Linked DNA regions of Homo sapiens: region 1 is linked to region 2. The links are contacts of gene promoters, found by promoter capture Hi-C in blood cells and fetal thymus (Javierre and others, 2016). All regions are on one chromosome and are shown on one strand. The core of a region is centred on a gene start or on the middle of the fragment in contact, and the rest is flanking DNA. Distances in the headings are between cores, read along the strand shown. Region 1 has its middle 69 kb from the start of PRSS1. Region 2 holds the start of PRSS1 (serine protease 1).

Region 1 (3,207 bases), core at 370-2,869, 69 kb after region 2:
GAGAACTTCTATTTTTTGCCAGGAAATATTTTCAATAGGGATATGTCTCTAATCAACAATGTCAATGTTAACTGAATAATGAGTCGGCTCTAATTCCAACCCTGATTCTTGTGAAAACCAGTATGAAATCTTGGCACTTATCTTGAGAACTCCTTTCCTGTCTCTGCAATCAGGTGTCTTAGAGTCTAGGTGGCTTCAGCTTCTACGAGCTGGGGTTTATGAGCTGAGGGGACAGAAGACAGAAAGAGAGCCAAGGAGAGAGCCTGGTGCTGCAGACTCCAGGAAGGAACCTGGGCTGTGGGCAGGCAAGCTCAGAATAAGAATTTCCCAAATGTTTCCAAGACTCACTGCCCCCAGGAAACAAAAGTACATGCAAGGGAGGAATAACCAGCTATGGTGGAATGAAGAGGTCAGCAAAGTTCCCCATAAAATAAGTATAAAACTCAAACAATTCTCATCAAAAGGCAGGAATTTTCTTTTTTCCTTAGGAGTAAAAGCTATTTGTTTCTGTACCAAGAGTAAGGCACACATGTTTTCATGGCTGTGGGCTATGAATAGTAATTTGAATTATATTTTATGCAAACACTTGTTTAATGCACATTTCAGTATAAGCCAAAATTACTATAATTTTGTTACTACAAAAATTTTTATATTATACTGCTATATAAGCTTAGTTGAAAGCTATCTCATTTCTTTATTATTTATTTAAAATTGACAAATAGAAATTATATATATTTATTGTATACAATGTGATATTGTGACATTTTAATATATGTATACATTGTGGAATAATTAAATCAAGCTAACATATGCATAATCTCACATACTTATTTTGTTTTGACTTTTTTTTGGTAGGAACATTTAAAATCTACATTCTTAGCAATTTTCAAGAGTACATATATTATTAACTATAGTAATCATGCTGCATATTAGGTCTCTAGAACTTCTTTCTGTCTGATTAAAACATGTACCTTTTGACCAACATTTCCCTATTTCCTATGCCTCCCTTCCTGAAACCCCATCCCAGTGCTTGGCAATTACCCTTCTACTCTCTGCTTCTGTGGGTTTGACTTTGTTGGATTCCATGAATAAGTGAGACCATGCATTATTTGTTTTTCTGTGCCTGAATTATTTCACTTAGCATAATGTCTCCAGGTCCAAACATGTTGTTGCAAATTATATGATTGCCTTTTTCTGTAGGGTTGAGTATTATTCCATTGTGTGTGTGTGTGTATGTGTGTATGTATACACATATACGTATAAATAATATATATATTTATATATACATATACAGAATTTATATCATATATTCTTCATCTAGTCATCCCTTGGTGGAAACCTAGGTTAATTCTGTATTTTGGCTATGTGAATAATGCTTCAAGGAACACAAGAGTACATATATTTATTCAACATACAGATTTCATATCCTTTGGATTTATATCTAGAACTGGAATTGCTAGATTATATGATAGTTCTATTTTTAATTTTCTGAGGAACCTCCATACTGTTTGTCAAAATGGCTGTACTAATTTACATTCTGTATTAGGTCAGGGTTCTCTAAAGGGGCAGAACTAATAGGATAGATGAAGAGGAGTTTATTAAAGGGTATTTACTCATACAAACACGAGGTAAAGTCCCATAATAGGTCTTCTGCCATCCGAGGAGCCAGGAAGCCAGTCTGAGTCCCAAAACATCAAAAGTAGGGAAGTTGAGAGTGTAGTCTTCAGTCTGTGGCCGAAGGCCCAAGAGCCCCTGGCAAATCACTAGTTTAAGTCCAAGAGTCTAAAAACTGAAGAACTTGGAATCCGATGTTTGAGAGCAGGAAGCATCCAGCATGGGAGAAAGATGAAAGCCAGAAGATTTAGACAGTCTAGTCCTTCCACATTCTTCTGTCTGCTTTTATTCTAGCCATGCTGGCAGCTGATTAGATTGTACCCACCCATATTGAGGGTGGTCTGCCTTTCCCAGTCCACTGATTCAAATGTTAATCTCCTTTGGCAACACCATCACAGACACACCCAGGAACAATACTTTGCATCCTTAATCCAACCAAGTTGACACTCAATATTAACCATCACACATTTCTGCCAACAATGTACATGATTCCCTTTTCTGCACATCCTTATCAATGCTTGTTATCTTTTGTCTTTGTAGTGTTAGCCAGTGTATCAGTTGTGAAGTGATATCTCATTGTGGCTTTAATTTATATTTCTCTGATAATTAGCAATGATAAACATTTATTCATTTGTATGCTTTCTCTTGAGAAATGTCTATTCAGGTCATTTGGCCATATGTTAATTGGGTTGTTTTCTTGCTAATGAGTGTGAATTTCTTATATATTTTGGATATTAATCCTTTTTCAGACATGTGGTTTGCAAATATTTTCTCCCATTTTGTAGCTTGCCTTTTTATTCTGTTGATTATTTCCTTTCCTTTCCTTTCCTTTCCTTTCCTGTGCAGAAACTTTTTAGTTTGATGTAATCCCACTTGTCTAATTTGGTTTTTGTTGCCTATGCTTTTGCAGTAATATCTAAAAATTGTTTACCAAGACCAGTATTAAGAAGCTTTTCCCCTATGTTTTCTAATAGTATTTTAAAAATTTCAGGTCTTATGCTTATGTCTTTAATTTATTTTGAGTTGATTTTATGTTGTAAAATAGAAAGACCAAAATCCAACTATTTTCTGACTATGGGAAATCACTTTAGTTTTAAAGACACAAATATATTGAAAGTAAAGTATGGAAAAGCATATGTCATATTAGTAACCATAAAAGCTTGAGTGGCTATATTAATATCAGAGAAATAAATTTTAAAGCAAAAAATATTATTACAGAAAAACACTTCATAATGATTAAAGTTTCAACCTATATATGTATATCAAATGATATAAAAAATATACAAAATATATATTCCTTCTATGTGTGTTTGTGCATATGTATTTTTTATATTTATTCACACATATATTTATCCTTTAAGGTGCTTTTAATTTCTTACTATGGATTTTAGTTGCTAACAATGTCATTTTCTCTCAGCTGGATGACTTCCTTTAATATTTCTTGTAAGACAGGTCTGCTAACCACACAATTCTGTAGCCTTTGTTTATCTGGGAATGTCTTTATTTCATTTTCATTTACAGAGGATAGTTTTGCTGGATATAGAATTTTTGGTGGAATTTTTTTCTTTCAGTGCCTCTCCATTATCTTCTGAT
Region 2 (3,201 bases), core at 81-2,580:
ACCCAACCTCAGTAGTTCCCTGGGCTGAAGCCAAGCTCTCCCAGGCAGACTGGCCGGGAGCTTTGCAGTCGGGGGCCCCACACTTACGACTTGTAGCAGTGGCCTGCTGATACCACCCACTGTTCGTTGATGAGGGAGCCACCACAGAAGTGGTAGCCAGAATTCAGGGACACCTGGTAGGGGACAGAATTCTCCTCACAGTTGTAGCCCCCAACGATCTTGTCATCATCATCAAAGGGGGCAGCAACTGGAGTGGAGATGGGAAGGGAGAAGGCAAGTCAATAGCATGTTAGGGGTGGCGCTCCCAGCCTGTGATTGCTTTCTGCTAATTAGAAATCCTTAACAAGCACAGTGAGGCTAGGCAAGGGAGGGAGCTCTGCCACCCCTGGTGATCATCACTGCCTGTGGCTCCCAAGTCTCTGTGCCTGCAGGGCACATAGCTAGGTACCCTGCGGAGGATCCGAGCTCTCCTGGGGTCACCAGGCTGAAGTCGCAAGGAATGTCCTCACAATGCTTCCAGTGGGATAGGAGTTGGGATGTGGTTGTCTCTCCCACTGAGTGCTTCTCTCTTTTATTCATCACCTGTGTACTTCCCCTGGCTATTTGGGCCCTGGATTGTCAGGATTCTTTTGCCAAGCTAGGAAAACCCCCTGTCTGCATAGACCTGGCCATGACCACCTTCCCCCATAGCTCAGATCTGTGCAGTCAGGGCAGAGTTGAGGGCAGCCCCCAGGCTCACTTTGGCAGAACAAAGGTAGACTTTGTTATTGGCCAATAGGACAGCAATTCTTAACCTTGGCTGCATGGCTGGAAATATTAAAAATCACCTGGGAAGCTTAAAAGCCCAGAACACAAGCTCTACCCCAGACAATTGAAGTTAGAATTTCTAGAGCTGAGTCTCTGGCATGAGTAATTTTTCAACCTCCCCAGGTGCATTCGAGGTTAGGAGCAGCTATAGTGGTGCTATTCTGTTGCTGTTGGAGCCAAGCCTGAAGCCTGCTGCTTCATTTCGTGGGACAGCCCCACCTGGCCCCCTTCCCAGCTTCTCCAACCACAACTCGGATATGGATGAATGACAGTGGTGGGAGTGAAGTCAAGGAGAAGGTGAACAGGTGAGACTTAAAAAGAGCCCAAGGAGGATGGGAAGGAGATATGCCAGATGGAGGAAACGGAATATCAGAGCACAGTCAAAAGAGGAGAGGTGGTAAGAATGGAAGGGCATTTGTCGGCCAGGAACGGGGGGGTGGTTGGGGCCTGAGGCAGGGCATGATACTCACGAGCAGCTGCCACAAAGGTAAGGATCAGGAGTGGATTCATGGTGGTAGAGTGTGCCTGACTGGTGGTGGAGGACTCGTCTTTATACCTCACGAGGATCCAGAGAGGAGGTGACTGTGAGGTGAGGGTCACCACTCCTCCCAGCACAAACACACCTGCAGCTTTCCTCTTCCCAGGGTCTTGCATCAGCCTGGCTATGTTTGGCCACTCTCTGGGTTTGTGATTCACAGGTGATAAGGAAACTTTCCTTCTGAGAGCAGAGAGCGAGACCGGCTGTTTCCTGCAAGGATACTGGGATGGGGAAGACAGGGAAAGTCAAGCCCCAGATAACAGAGCTGGGCTTTCTTAGGCCCTGGAGATGAGGGTTAGAAGGAGGGAGAATGGCCTAGCTGTTTACAAATCTTTCCACCTATTGGGAATGTATTTAATGTACTTAAGGAAGGGCAAGCATTGGTAAAAAGCTTGGATTTCAGTTTCCTGGGGCCCACATGAGAGGAGCAAAGTCTTATCTAAGGCTCATTCCTGTGAATATGAAGATGCTTCTCTCCAGTCAGTGTGCAGGAAGGTCAAATGCAAGATTTTGGGGAATGAAAATTCCAACACTAAGGGGTAAGGAGAAGGGAGACTCAGCATTCCATAGGATTCTGGGCTTCCAGATTTCTCTCCTTCCTACCAAGGCTTAAGGATGGGAAGTGTTTCAAAGAAGGAGGGGGCACAGTTTCTGTAGGAGCTTTCTCAGTGCCTCTGGAGGATGGAAAACCAATGGCGCACTCCTCCCCTTCTTCAATGTGAAGACATTTGTCTCTCTCATGTGCATCCTGTCATAGGTTCTTTTTATGCAGCCTCACTGTTGTCCTTGCAATCTGCACTCAGGTGATGCAAACTGACCCACCTGCTCAGGGCTGACAGTCTGAACCAGAATGATCAGATGATCATTTTCTATTTTCGATGCAGTGAGATTATGCTTGGCTCAGTACAAAGTGAATCTTCCTAGAGAATATCCTGATTTGGGCCCTACCAAGGCTACTAAGACACAGTTGTGTAATTGACTGAGGCACAACCTGGCCAGAGCAGTGTGGAAATGGAGATGCTGTCTGTGCTCAAGTCTAATGATGTAGGGAAAGGAGGAGCTTCCTTATGAGGGTGCTTTCCCTTCTCAGCAACTCTGAGCTCAGGCTGGTGATGGGCAGGAGTAAGTAGAGTTCAAGTTTGGATTCTTTGAAAGGTAAAAGAAGCAGAAATGTTCTAGAGACGGTGGACAAAATGGGAAAAGCTCAGAAACTTGGTGTTGAAATCGGACCTGGCCAGGGGGCTAGAGGGAGGAAGCAAATGGAAACCAGAGGGAATTGGAAATAATGCCAAAGTGGGGCCCATGGTGTTGAGAGGACACACAGAGTACCTTCGGTTTCAGCTCCTGGTATGGCTGCTGAGCCAGCTTCCCCACAGCCAGGAGACCCACTGCTTGGAGACCCCCTCTCCGCCTCGCACCCCCTCTAATCACTAATGGGCCCATACCTAACACTGCTATGCTTAGATGGTGCACAGTGCCTGACAACTTTACAAGAGTTTTCATGTAAGCAACAGTGGTACATTACTTTTCATTTATGCTGAGTTTCACACTTTAACTTCCCACAAACATGCTAATTGTAATTTGTGCAGAGCAAAATTGTTTCCATTTATAGAGCAAGAGACTGAGATTCAGAAGGATTCTGTCTTGCCCAAGAATACAGATCTTGGCAGAGCTGACCATAAGGCCAACAGAAGCCATGGAGAGCATTGTGAAGTGTGGGAATTTCATCTAAGAGGAGGTATCTAAAAGGAGATTTATTGAGGATCAAGACAGAGGTCCCTAGAGGACAAACTGTACATCTGATTCCTTCCTGGTGCTTTTCTTCCTGGTAGAAATGGATGATTGAATTTATCTTT

The links. Contacts are between HindIII fragments. The CHiCAGO score rates a contact against its expected background, and 5 or more counts as called.
Region 1: a contact is called between a fragment that was not itself captured here and the fragment with the promoter of PRSS1 in region 2, in 1 of 17 cell types (naive B cells). The highest score is 5.2, in naive B cells.

What each region holds. Positions count from the first base shown.
Region 1 is chr7:142,678,604-142,681,810 of GRCh38, reverse strand. It overlaps TRB and the pseudogene TRBVA. Among named protein-coding and RNA genes, the nearest start is that of PRSS1, 69 kb to the left of the region's middle. The HindIII fragment of the contact is 1,895 bases long and covers 672-2,566 here.
Region 2 is chr7:142,747,601-142,750,801 of GRCh38, reverse strand. PRSS1 (serine protease 1) reads right to left here and starts at 1,330. Exons shown (of 5, transcript NM_002769.5): 1 at 1,278-1,330; 2 at 88-247. The coding sequence starts at 1,317. It also overlaps TRB. The HindIII fragment of the contact is 901 bases long and covers 838-1,738 here.